Linked DNA regions of Homo sapiens: region 2 is linked to region 1. The links are contacts of gene promoters, found by promoter capture Hi-C in blood cells and fetal thymus (Javierre and others, 2016). All regions are on one chromosome and are shown on one strand. The core of a region is centred on a gene start or on the middle of the fragment in contact, and the rest is flanking DNA. Distances in the headings are between cores, read along the strand shown. Region 1 holds the start of IL2RB-AS1 (IL2RB and C1QTNF6 antisense RNA 1). Region 2 has its middle 12 kb from the start of EIF3D.

Evidence for each region. The method cuts DNA at HindIII sites, captures the fragments that hold promoters and counts their contacts. A CHiCAGO score of 5 or more calls a contact.
Region 2: a contact is called between a fragment that was not itself captured here and the fragment with the promoter of IL2RB-AS1 in region 1, in 1 of 17 cell types (megakaryocytes). The highest score is 5.5, in megakaryocytes.

What each region holds. Positions count from the first base shown.
Region 1 is chr22:37,165,220-37,171,823 of GRCh38, reverse strand. It overlaps IL2RB-AS1 (IL2RB and C1QTNF6 antisense RNA 1), which reads right to left and starts at 5,065. Exons shown (of 2, transcript NR_199008.1): 1 at 4,860-5,065. It also overlaps a transcript of IL2RB not described here. RefSeq lists enhancers at 3,471-3,530, 4,845-4,894. The HindIII fragment of the contact is 5,870 bases long and covers 3,998-6,604 here.
Region 2 is chr22:36,537,924-36,543,929 of GRCh38, reverse strand. No RefSeq gene overlaps it. Among named protein-coding and RNA genes, the nearest start is that of EIF3D, 12 kb to the right of the region's middle. The HindIII fragment of the contact is 2,707 bases long and covers 2,707-5,413 here.

The DNA of each region.
Region 1 (6,604 bases), core at 3,816-6,315:
AGAAGAGGATTGTGAGCAGCTTTCTATTCTGTACAACTGCATCTATAAATCCCATAAATACTTTCTGAGAACAAGTCAAGCAGTCTCTTCTCACGTGGAGCTTGCAGTCTAGCGTAGGCAAAGGCATGCATTGGGAATCATGTGGCACATTTCAGGGAGTTATAAATTGCCTCGCATATTCAGGAAGCATTCCATAGTTTTCATCCTTCCTCCAGTTCTGCCTGGCTCCCTCCTTCCTTCAGATTTTCCCATCGCCTTCTGGTGAGGTCCATCTACCCTGACTGCCTTGTTTAAAATTGTGCTCCTGATTCTCTGTCTCCCATTTTTTCTTTTCTGATAGCGTTTTTCATCTTTTAACCTCCTATGAAACTTACTTAGTCCTTATGTTTATTGTCTGTTTCTCACCCCACTCCCCACTAGACTGTAAGCGTCACAAGGGCAGGCGTCTTTGTTTTGTTCACTGTTGTGTCCTAAGCCTCTAGAAAAAGGGTTTGGCACATAGGGGCTCCTCAATAAATATTATTTGAATGAAAGAGCGTGAGGCCAAGCATGACGACTCACAACTGTAATCCCAGCACTTTGAGAGGCCGAGGTGGGTGGATCACCTGCGGTCAGGAGTTTGAGACCAGCCTGGCCAGCATGGTGAAACCCTGTCTTTACTAAAAACACAAAAATTAGCCAGGCATGGTGGCCGCGCCTGTAGTCCCAGCTACTTGGGAGGCTGAGACAGGAGAATTGCTTGAACCCGGGAGGCAGAGGTTGCAGGGAGCTGAGATTGTGCCACTGCACTCCAGCCTGGGCAACAGAGCGAGCCTCTGTCCCCCTCCCCACCCAAAAAAAAGAGCGTGAGTCCTAGAATTTGGGAGGTAGTAAAATCCACCCTCATCCATAATATCGGAAGTTCCACAGGCTGGCAGGATCATCCCACCACGTGCCCAGCTTCCAACCACAGAAAGGCGCTCCCAGAATTTTGCAGGATTTCTTTGGATTTGCTTCATGTTTATCTTTGAGATTGCTTCATCTCTTTGGAGATCAGCAGTAAAGTCTTAAAGGCAGCAGGAATCTGTGTGTTTGCGGAGACAATGAGGAAAGGAACTGAGGGAAGTGTGTGTGGCCCGTGCAGTGAGGCTGGGAGGCCATGAGCCACGTCAAGCAGTGACTGCGTGGTGGAGAACCCCAAATGTGGCACCCTTGGGACTGAGAGGTGGCCAGAAGGGGCAAGTCGACTCCCATGATGCCTCCACAGAGAGGGATGGAGGCTTGGGTTCTAGACTGTCCACCCCCAAGAGGCCACGCCTGTCATTACCCCAGCCCCTGGGTGGCGCTGCTTCCCCTGTGGCAGACACGCATCTCTCCACGGCTGGGGGCAGCGGGGACAGTGCAGAGTCTGCCCCCGCTGCTGGCCTAGCTTGTCCATCCCTGTCTATGAGGAGCTGTTGCTCTTCTCAGCTGCTCTCCTGTTAGGTCTTGGGACCTGCACCTTCTGTGATGTCAGCTGCTAAAACACACCCCATCTCTTCTGCAAAACAGGTAGCTCATTTCACCCCCAACCTTGGCAAACACCAAACTTCCTGCAGCTGCTTTGGTTTTCTTCAGGGCCTTTCTGCTGTGTTCTGGCCTTCCTGAAAGAGTCTTATTATTCTGTCCATCCACATCCACTGTCTGTCCATCCGTCTGTCTGTTCATCCCTTCATCCATCCATCCATCCATCCATCCATCCATCCATCCATCCATTCTTCCTTCCTTCTCCCCCATCCTTCCTTCCTTCTCCCCCATCATTCCTTCTCTCCCTCCATCATTCCCTCCATGATCCCCCCATTCATCCTTCTTCTGTTCATCCATCAGTCCATTTTCCATTCACCCATTAACCACCCTTCTATCCACATCACAATGACTAAGCACCTCCTATGCTCCAGGCACATACCAGGCAGCATAAAGAAATGCAGAATGAATGGGATTCAGTTCCTGCCCTTGGGGAGCACCCACTTTAGTTGGGGAGAGAAGGAAGGCCTCTGGCAGGTACCTAACCCCATCAGAAAGCAAGGGTAAAGGCCTGGGAGGCTTCACGGAGGATGTGAACCCGGGGCCTGAAGGATGATGAGTCCGCGGGATAAGAAGGCAAAGGAAGGATGCCACATGCAGGGCAGGGAGGGGGCAAACCCTGGGAGGAGGGGGAGGCATGCAAGCGATTCTGCGTTCTGTGTGGCCAGAGGATTGGATGCAAAGGGGGATCTTCAAGAGGGGGCCCAGTTAGGGACAGCCTTGAAGCCAGACTCAGGATGCTTGGATAGGGTCTTGAGGGCAGTGGGGAGCCCCTGAAGAGTTGTGTGCAAGGATGCTCTGGATGCAGAGTGAAGGATGACATGGCAGCGTCCCGCTAACAAATATGAACCCCTCTGTAAACAGAACCCCTGTGTAAGCAAGAACCCTCTGTAAACAGAATCCCTCTGTAAACAGAACCCCTGTGTAAGCAAGAACCCCTCTGTAAACAAGAACCCCTCTGTAAACGTGTAAACAAGAACCCCTCTGTAAACAGAATCCATCTGTAAGCAAGAACCCCTCTGTAAACAGAACCCCTCTGTAAGCAAGAACCCCTCTGAAAACAGGAACCCCTCTGTAAACAGAACCCCTCTGTAAGTAAGAACCCCTCTCTGTAAGCAAGAACCCCTCTGTAAACAGAATCCATCTGTAAGCAAGAACCCCTCTGAAAACAAGAATCCTTCTGTAAACAGAACCCCTCTGTAAGCAAGAACCCCTCTGAAAACAAGAACCCTTCTGTAAACAGAACTCCTCTGTAAACAAGAACCCCTCTGTAAACAGCATCCCTCTGTAAACAAGGACCCCTCTGTAAGCGAGAACCCCTCTGTAAGCAATAACCCCTCTGTAAACAGCATCCCTCTGTAAACAGAACCCCTCTGTAAGCAAGAACCCCTCTGTAAGCAGAACCCCTATATAAGCAGTGCCCCTCTGGCACTGGGCGTGGAGGGAAGGAGATGGAGCTGGGGAAATATTAGGCTCTGGTGATAATTGTTGTTCCCCAACTGCCTTCAGCCACCTAGTCTGTGCCTTGGCTCTTGCAGCTCCCTCTGTCTTGGGCCCTTTCTCTCGACCCATTCCGGCCTATGGAACACTCATCCCCATCCTCCCAGAGAAGAGGAAGAACCCAGCCTTCCTCAGGTGCCTCCTGCATGCCAGGAACTGTGGGTGATGGCTTCTCTGTGTGCACAATCTCATGCCATCCCCATGAACCTAAGAGGTGGGGAGTAGTCGCATGTTTCAGATGCAGAAACAGGCTCAGAGAGGTAAAGGAACTTATCCAAGATCACACAGCTAGGAAGTGGCCAAGGTGGGATGGGGACCCAGCCCTCACTGCCTTTGCACAATGACCCACTGCCCACAGCACCGATGCCACATCCTCTGGAGCCTCCCCTATGGCTCCAGCCAAGCCACGTTCTATTTTTGGGTTTGTGTTTTTGTGTTTTGTCATTTGCAGGCGTTTCAAACTGGGCACGCTCTATGCCTCTCATACTCATTATGACCACATTTTCTAAAGACAAAACTGCACAGACAGCCTGAAAAAGTATTTTTTCTGTCTTGTTACTTTCTTTAATAACGTCTTAGCCAGTTTAGAATCAAATCACATGTATTTACTCTTCTCACGTGATACCAGGACTGTTCTGAAAGTTCAGGCCAAGGGTCACCACATTGACACGATTTCCTTAGTTATAATCATTTGCATACTTGTCCTACCTCCATACCAAGAGAAGGTACTCTGAGTTAGAGTTCAAATCCCACACATCCTTGTCATTCCCACAGTGCCCAGCATGCTGCTGCCAGCAGGTGCTCAGTAAATCCTTACTGAACTCATGCAAAGGGGACAGACGCCACCTCAGCCCAACACCAAGATTGTCCTCCCTCCCTCCCGCACCCCTTCCCTTCCTCCCTTGCTTCCCATCTTTCAATAAATGCAGTTTGAATGCATTTGTCACACAAAGCTTTAGGCTCAGAGAAGCTGTGGGACTCCATGCACTTCACCTGTGGCCTTGAGGCACCGCAGTCCAGCCAGGAAGACAGACACCAGGCAAATCCTCCCACCTATGCCCAGTCAATTAGGAATATGAGCACCTGATCCAGTGATGGGCAGGGCAGCATCCACTTTAGATGCACGGGGTGCTGGGAAAGCTGCCCTGAGAAAGTGACCGCAGGCTGAGGCCTGGGGCAGAGAGAACGTGGGCAGGGGCTCGAGGCAGGGAAGAGCTTGGAGACTTCCAGGAACTGCCAGACAGCCAGGGGCAGTGGGGCAAGGGAGAGAAGAAGCCAGAGAGGCCGCAGGCCTGGGCTTTCCATGGCGAGGAGGCCTGGATACTGCATAAGTGCAGCAGGAAATGTTGGGTGGGGTCGGATTTTCACTTTACAAGGGCAGTCGCTGGGGCAGAGGGCATGGGACTCAGGGAGGGACTCAGGAGGCAGAGAGATGGTGGGACGAGACTGAGGGTGCCGGCTGGGGCTGGGGGTAGAGGACTGTGAGCGCTTGGCACTTGGAGGCAGTCAGAGCTGGTCTGGGCAGGGGTGCTGTCACCCAGGGCCGAGGAAAGGGATACAGGAGGGGCAGAGGGTGGGTCGGAGGCTGTCCTGGGAACCCTAAACGTGGGGGCCAGGAGAAGGAGGTGCTCCCGTTTCTGATCTGTACCAATTAAGGGGAAGGTGAGAAATTGCTTGGGTGGAGTGTCCTTCTCTGAGTCTGGGGGTTAGGTGGGATGAGGGGACCTCGGAGGCTGGAGGCCAGAGTTCACACTCCTGCCCTGCTGTGTGACCTAAGGCTGAGAGCTGCCTCTCTCTGGGCCCAGATGCATCATTACCTATTCAGCAAGCAGCTGGGCCTGAGAGCCTCCGAGATCCCTTGCAGGTCTGCTGGTCTCGGCTGCCTTTCCTTGGTCTGCCCTCATGCTGTCTTCCCAGAAGCCAGGGGCCCAGTTTGCTTCCCCTGCTTGTCCTGTGGGCACTTGCGACTCCCGGGGAGGCAGCAGACACGGTCCAGCGTGGTCACGCTCCTGGCCGCGACTTCACCTCCCTCCTGCAGCACAAGTCTCGAGGAGGCTGGGGAGGTGCGCGCACTGCCCTCTGGTGGCAACTTCTGGGCCCACCTGTCATTGTGCCCTGCTGTTTTCTAACTCAATTATTCTTGAAGGGATGATTGAGCGCCTTTTGCATGCAAAGTCCCGAGGTAGGCATGAAGTAGTTGGGCAGTCCAGATGGGGGAGAAGGTGTCGTGGATGTGGAGCCCAGGGTGTCACTCTACGCGCTCCCGATCCCTCCCAAGGCCTAGGCGTCCTCCCTCCACCGCGGGAACGGAGCAGGGGTGGCACAGAACTCTGGTGGCTGCAATGAGGGTTCAACGGTTGAATGCGTGGAGTGCATCTTAGCTTCACTTCTGGCCCAGGAAGCGCAGGCTCCGTGTACAACACACGCAGCGGTGCAGTGCCTTCAAAGGGGGCGTGTGGCTGTGTGTGTGGATGTGCCAGTTTTGGGCTTCCTCTCGGCAGGAGGTGGGGGGGCGGGGAGGCTCTGGCGCTGAGTGCCCCCTTTCCATTGCGGTCCTTTGGTGCAGTTGAGGGTCCCCCCAGTAGCAGGGGCATTTCCAAGGAGCCAGGACTTCAAGGGCCTAAGGCTGGAGGGGCCCTGTCCAGTGCAACAGAGAGACCTTGAGCATGGGCGGTGAGGTCACCTCTCCTGGCCCAGCTATCAGCTGAGCTGGATGTGCATGGCTCAGGTTTGCACAAAGGAGGCCCACCTGTTCACAGGAGTTCTGGAAAGAACACACCTGTGGCAAAGACACACACACGTGCACACCAGACAGGCCATGATCTCGCTCCCCTGGCGAGGAATGACTTCCTTGCCGTAGGGAGAATTCAGGGGAGTCTGGCCCTCTTGAGGAGATGCTGTAGAGGGGAGTTGTGGACGGTTGGATTCAGGATGTTTTCAGCTCCAAGTGTCTGCTTTAGGCCGGTCTGCACCTGTGTCCTCCCCGCCTCTGTCCTTCTGGCACTTGCCCTGGGTAGGCCTGGCTCAAAGCCCTCTTCTCCCCTCCTCCCCCAACCCCACAAACAATAATAAAATTAAATTAAATTAAATTAAATTAAATTTTTAAAAAAAGCCCTCTTCTCCATGAAGCCTGCCCTGAAGAGGCAGCTGCCCAGGAGCATCTGCACATCTCATACAAACTTTAGCTGTGATTATATTGCATTCGTTCCCATGCCTATTTCCTGTCCCTGCAGCTAAACTCTGGGCTCCTTGAGGGCTGGGTGGAGTCTTGGGCATCTTTTGTGGCTGCTATAACTCCCAGCCCTGAGCCAGGATAATACAGACGCTTGACAAACGCTCCATGCTGACTGGCAGGTGTTCCTACCTTCCATGCCTGGGAAAATCATGATTCAGACTCTCCCTGGAGAGGCCACGGTCAGAGAAACATTAGGAAGGACAGAGTGGGTTCTGGAAGGCCAGAGGCACACGGCCAGAGCAGGCACAGATGCGGCCAGCCATAGCTCAAATTCTCATGGCTCTCTTCTTCCAAAGGTGGCGGCAGCCTGGTAGTTAGGAGCATGTG
Region 2 (6,006 bases), core at 2,811-5,310, 630 kb after region 1:
AATTACCCGGGTGTGGTGGCGGGTGCCTGTAATCCCAGCTATTCGGGAGGCTGAGGCAGGAGAATCGTTTGAACATGGGAGGCAGAGGTTGCAGTGAGCCAAGATCGTGCCATTGCACTCCAGCCTGGGCGACAGAGTGAAACTCCATCTTAAAAAAAAAAATAGACTCTAGGTTACTTGATAGCATGGCAAGGTCTCCACCTGAACGCTGAGTGACCAACTCGGGGCCTGGTTCCTCACGAGTGACCAGTGATTGCTTTTTATTTATTTATTTTTTTTTTTTTTGAGACGGAGTCTCTCTCTGTCACCCAGGCTGGAGTGCAGTGGCATGATCTTGGCTCATTGCAAGCTTCGCCTCCCGGGTTCATGCCATTCTCCTGCCTCAGCCTCCCGAGTAGCTGGGACTACAGGCGCCCACCACCACACCCGGCTAATTTTTTGTATTTTTAGTAGAGACGAGGTTTCACCGTGTTAGCCAGGATGGTCTCGATCTTCTGACCTCGTGATCCACCTGCCTCGGCCTCCCAAAGTGCTGGGATTACAGACATGAGCCACGGTGCCCGGTCAGTGATTGCTTTTTAAATGTTGCGAGATCTTGCCCCAGCCAAAGCCCCTACTTCCAAGTTTCTGGTAACCAGAGTAACCCCACTGGCATGTATCAAGGGCTTATTTGCATGCCAGGCACTGCCTTAAGCATGTCACATATAAAATCTGACCTAATTCTATTCTCCCTCCCTCCCGAAGTGGTACATGCTATGATTCCATCTATTTTACAGATGAAGAAGCTATGGCTCAAATGGTCACACAACTTGCCCAAGGTCACACAACAGTGGTAAAAATTTAAATCGCTGGAATTCAAATTCAGTCAGTCTGACTCCCCAGATGTCTGCTTGCATTACAGTGATGTCAGACTGCTCCATGAGACCACCTTAAATATCACCTTGCGGTCACTCAGCCCCAGCCACAAGGCTCTCCAGGCACCCGCCGGGGCAGTGGGAACCAAGGCATGTGGTATGAAGAGATGAGAGACCGGATGCGGTGGCTCATGCCTGTCATCTCAGCATTTTGGGAGGCTGAGGAGGGCGGATCACCTGAGGTCAGGAGTTCGAGACCAGCCTGGCCAACATGGTGAAACTCTGTCTCTACTAAAAAACACAAAAATCCGCTGGGCCTGGTGGCAGGCACCTGCAATCCCAGCTACTCGGGAGGCTGAGGTGGGGAGAATTGCTTGAACCCAGGAGATGGAGGTTGCGGTGAGCTGAAATCGCACCACTGCACTCCAGCCTAGGCAACAGAGAGAGACTCCATCTCAAAAAAAAAAAAAAAAAAAAAAAACAGAGATGAGAACAACACTGTGCTGCAGAAAGTGGGGGCCTGAGGTTCAGAGAGGGGCACCTACTAGCCCACAGCTGTGCGGCCAGATCGAGCCAAAATCAGTATTTATCTTTGGCCCTAAGACCCCAAATCCCAGCTTCCAACAGAAGAAAACATATGGGGCAGAGAGAAGGAGCCAAGGAGAGGCCTGGTTATTGCTCATCCCATTGAAACAGTCAAACACTCTCTAAACTAGCTAAATGGTTCTGAAGGAAATGGGAATCTATTTTGTCTCCTGTCGCCAGGCCTGCAAATCCTGATATATCTCAGGCCACGGCAGCGAAGCGGATGGCTCAGCACTTGGAGACATGCCCACACGAGGCAGGAAGTAGGGTGGATGATTCAACAGGTACCTCTCTATTCTGAGAACTGGTCCTGTGATGGGTGAGTGTACATGCAGCTGAAATAAAAAATGATTTAGAATGTCGACCACTGGAACGCACAGCAAAGCCTCCCTTTCTTCCTGGGGGACTTGTGGCATTCTTTGGGGCTTTAATCTTTCCAGGTTTTCTAGTTCTGAAATTTTGCTGAGACAACAAGGTTCTTGGGAGGCTGGGGTGGGCTGGTGGCTCCAAAGCTTCCTTTCCTGCTGGCACAGCCTCCAACAGGATGATAAAATGGCTGCCGTCCTACCTGGGACACCATGTTCCTTGCCCTCAGTCTTCCTCATCTGCAGAATGGGGGTAGTGATCTCTGCCTAACCGAGACAGAAAAGTTTGGTACAGGTAGCACAGCTCCACAATTTCTTATCTGAAATCCTCGCGGCTCAATGTGCTTTATCAATTTATGTATTTTATTTTATATTTTATTTATTTTGAGACACAGTTTCACTCTGTCGGCCAGGCTGGAGTGCAGTGGCCCGATTTTGGCTCACTGTAACCTCCACCTCCTGGGTTCAAGCGATTCTCATGCCTCAGCCTCCCCCAGTAGCTGGGATTACAGGGACCCACCACCACGCCTGGCTAATTTTTGTATTTTAGTAGAGATGAGGTTTCACCCAGGCTGGTCTCAAACTACTGACTTCTGGTGAGCTGCCCGCCTTGGGCTCCCAAAGTGCTGGGATTACAGGTCTGAAGCCACCACATCCGGCCTCAATGTGCTTTATAACTTGGAATTCTTTGGATTCCTGAAAGGTTTTCGAGTGGATCTACCGCATATCAGGTGACATGCCAGTGAGCTCTGGAGCAATATTCCATAAACCCTTTAATTTTTCTGCAGCAAAATGTATAAATATTCACGCTAAGTGGGACAAAATAAAGACTATAAATAACCTCACATCCAATTCATATCAGGTTTGCCATCAAATGCTTGCCCCAATCTCATGAAAAAGCTTTAGATTTTCAGAGCTTTGTGGGTTTTGGAATTGTGCATGGAGAGTGCCAGCTTTGGTTTCAGCCACACCTGGGTTTCCATTCCAAATGCACCCTGACCAGCTGGCTCACCTGGGGCAAGACATTCCTCCTCTCTGAGCCTCAGTGTTCTCGTCTATAAAATGGGGTGATGATTCCTATGGTGCTTCTTAAAAGATAAGCAAGGAAACGCAAGTTGCCACTCTGGAAGAGAGGTTGGCCACACTGACCGGTCCCAATGAGGTGAATCCACCACAGGATATCCGGGATCTTTCTGCACACAAGGCGGTGGCAGACTCCCTTTGACCAAACTTACAAGGCTGACGCATAGCAGAAGATCCATTTATTATTGGAGAGCACAGTAAATACCCCACCAGCAGAATGGAGCACTTCCATCAGCCTAACCAGCACGTGCTTCCCTACAGCACAAGTTCCATGAGGATCCACGGTGTCACAGCACTGCTTGGTGGCAGGGAGTCAGAATAAACAACAGCATTAAGAAGCATTTATCGGCCAGGCACGGTGGCTCACGCCTGTAATCCCAGCACTTTGGGAGGCCGAGGCGGGCGGATCATGAGGTCAGGAATTCGAGACCAGCCTGACCAACGTGGTGAAACCCCATCTCTACTAAAAATACAAAAATTAGCCAGGCATGGTGGCAGGCACCTGTAATCCCAGCTACTAGGGAGGCTGAGGCATAAGAATCACTTGAACCTGGGAGGCAGAGGTTGCAGTGAGCCAAGATTGCACCACTGCACTCCAGCCTGGGTGACACAGCCAGACTCCATCTCAAAAAAAAAAAAAAAAAAAAGTGTTTATCACAGAGCAGCTTGAAGCCACCTCTGTTTTGGGAGGACAGTCTTACCCGGGGAATGGGGATGATGCTTGAGCCAGCGCAACCAAGAACCTGTGCCCTGGACAATGCCAGCCCTGGCTCTGTGACCATCCCCTTCCTAAATGTCCCCTACTGAGGGACACTTCCATTCACTCTTTCTCCAAAGTTGCAAGGTAACTGACCAGGTTCCCCTTGGTAAACTAGGATCGTATTCCAGGCCTCCCCCTCTGAGCCAGACTCCTTCAGAAACTTTGCCTGGCATTGATGTACCCCACACTCTTCAGTCATGTTTGCAGATAACCAAACTGATGACTCTTAGAAAAGGCCAGTCTGCATCCATGGCAGAGTTCATACCCCTAAGATGGCCACGACAATACCTCCCACTCCACATACTTGTTCCATAACTTTGTGCCTTACCCAGCAAGAAATTCAGTCTCTGTCCTCCCTCGCCCTTGACTCTAGGCAGGCTTGTGACTCACTTGGAACCAACAAGTTACGGGGATGGGAGAGATGCTGTATAACTTCGGAGGCTAGATCACAGAAGGCAGCATGGCTTCCAGCTTGTTCGCCAGAATACTTGCTCTGAACTCCCCACATGGACTCACTACAGAATGACCCTGAGGCTAAATGGAGAGAGAGAAAAACAGAAGCTCCACCCACACCAAACTATAATGCATGAGAGACCCCAGGTCAGAACCACCCAGCCAAGCCCTCTCCCAATTCCTGACCCACAGAAACTAAGAGATATAATAAAAAGACTGTTGTTGTTTTAAACCACTAAATTTTGGTGTGATTGGTTACACAGCAACAGATAATCAGTAACAGAGGACCATTTTACTTCCCTTCTGCCTAGGGTGACCATACCTCCCAGTTTAAGTGAGACAATCCCAGGGCATAATTATTGATAGTAATCCCTTCGTCACCCCCAAAGTGTCCCAAATTTGAATGGTAAGTCATATGGTCACCCTACATTTGGCCAAGTTCTCAGAACACACTTTAGATTCTGGCAACAACTCTTCACTCACAGCCTAGAATAATCGAAATGCCTGAGGTACCTAGCACAGTGTGTTGAAGAAATCAATGCTGGTTCCTTCTCTTTCTCCTAATTCTGTTCTGTCTGAATGCTCAGCAGTATTTTACCAAGAGATGGCTTCGGGCGCAGTGGCTCATGCCTGTAATCCCAGCACTTTCGAAGGCCAAGTCAGGTGGATCACCTGAGGTCAGGAGTTCAAGACCAGCCTGACCAACATGGTGAAACCTCATCTCTACTAAAAATACAACAATTTGCCAGGCATGGTGGCGGGCACCTGTAATCCCAGCTACTCGGGAGGCTGAGGCAGGAGAATCATTTGAACCGGGAGATGGAGGTTGCAGTGAGCCAAGATCTTGCCACTGCACTCCAGCCTAGGCAACACAGCGAGACTCTGTCTCAAAAAAATAAAATTAAATAAAAAGGAGATGGCTTCAGGAGCAGGCTCAGTCCCCTCACAGTCCCTGGAACACTCTCCCCCAACAAAACCTGCATCCTCCTGAAAGCAGAGTACCTGCTACACAGACACAGCTCCCAGGCAAGTCCAGGGCTACCCCCTTCACAAGACGGCTCTCAGTAAGCCTGTCCCACGGGGAAATTCTGGAGCTGCCGCTGGTATTCAAGATGGGAAGGCTCTGAATTCCTTAGAGAGAGCAGGCAAGAGACAGAGGAGGGGCGAGACAACCCTGCAACCGTCTTTTTATTATCTCTCTTGGTTTCTGTGGGACAGGAATTTGGGGTGGGCTTGGCTGGATGGTTCTGCCTTGGGGCCTCTCGGGCCTCTCGGAAAGGCCTTCTTCACCACCCCTGTAAGGGATGGAAGCTTCTGAGTCCACAAAACTGTTCACAAATCCTGGCTCCACCATTTACTCACTGGGCCAAGTACTCAACGACTCTGAGCTTCTTTCTCCCCACCTGCACGAATGGGAGGGTCCATGGCAATTTCAAGGAACTTTTAGAAAAGAATCAAAGAAGTAATTTTTTTTGTTGTCTTTGTTTTTTTCAGAGAGGAAATTATTTATATAAAGCCCATAGCACAGTGCCTGGCATAAAGTAAGCACTCAATGAATGTTATTTTCTTTTTTAAGACACAGGAGCTTACTACTAGAAAATGTACCTGTCTTACCTGGAAGGGACAGAACAGTACAACAAGAAAGGCCAATGGGCCAGTTGCGGTGGCTCACACCTGTAATCCCAGCACTTTGGGAGGCCGAGGGGGGGTGGATAACATGAGTTTAGGAGTTCGAGAACAGCCTAGCCAACATGGCCAAACCCCGTCTCTACCAAAAATACAAAAATTAGCCAGGCGTGGTGGTGCAGGCCTGTAATTCCAGCTACTCCGGAGCCTGAGGCAGGAGAATTGCCTGAACCCCGGAGGCAGAGGTTGCAGTGAGCCAAGATCGAGCCACTGCACTCCA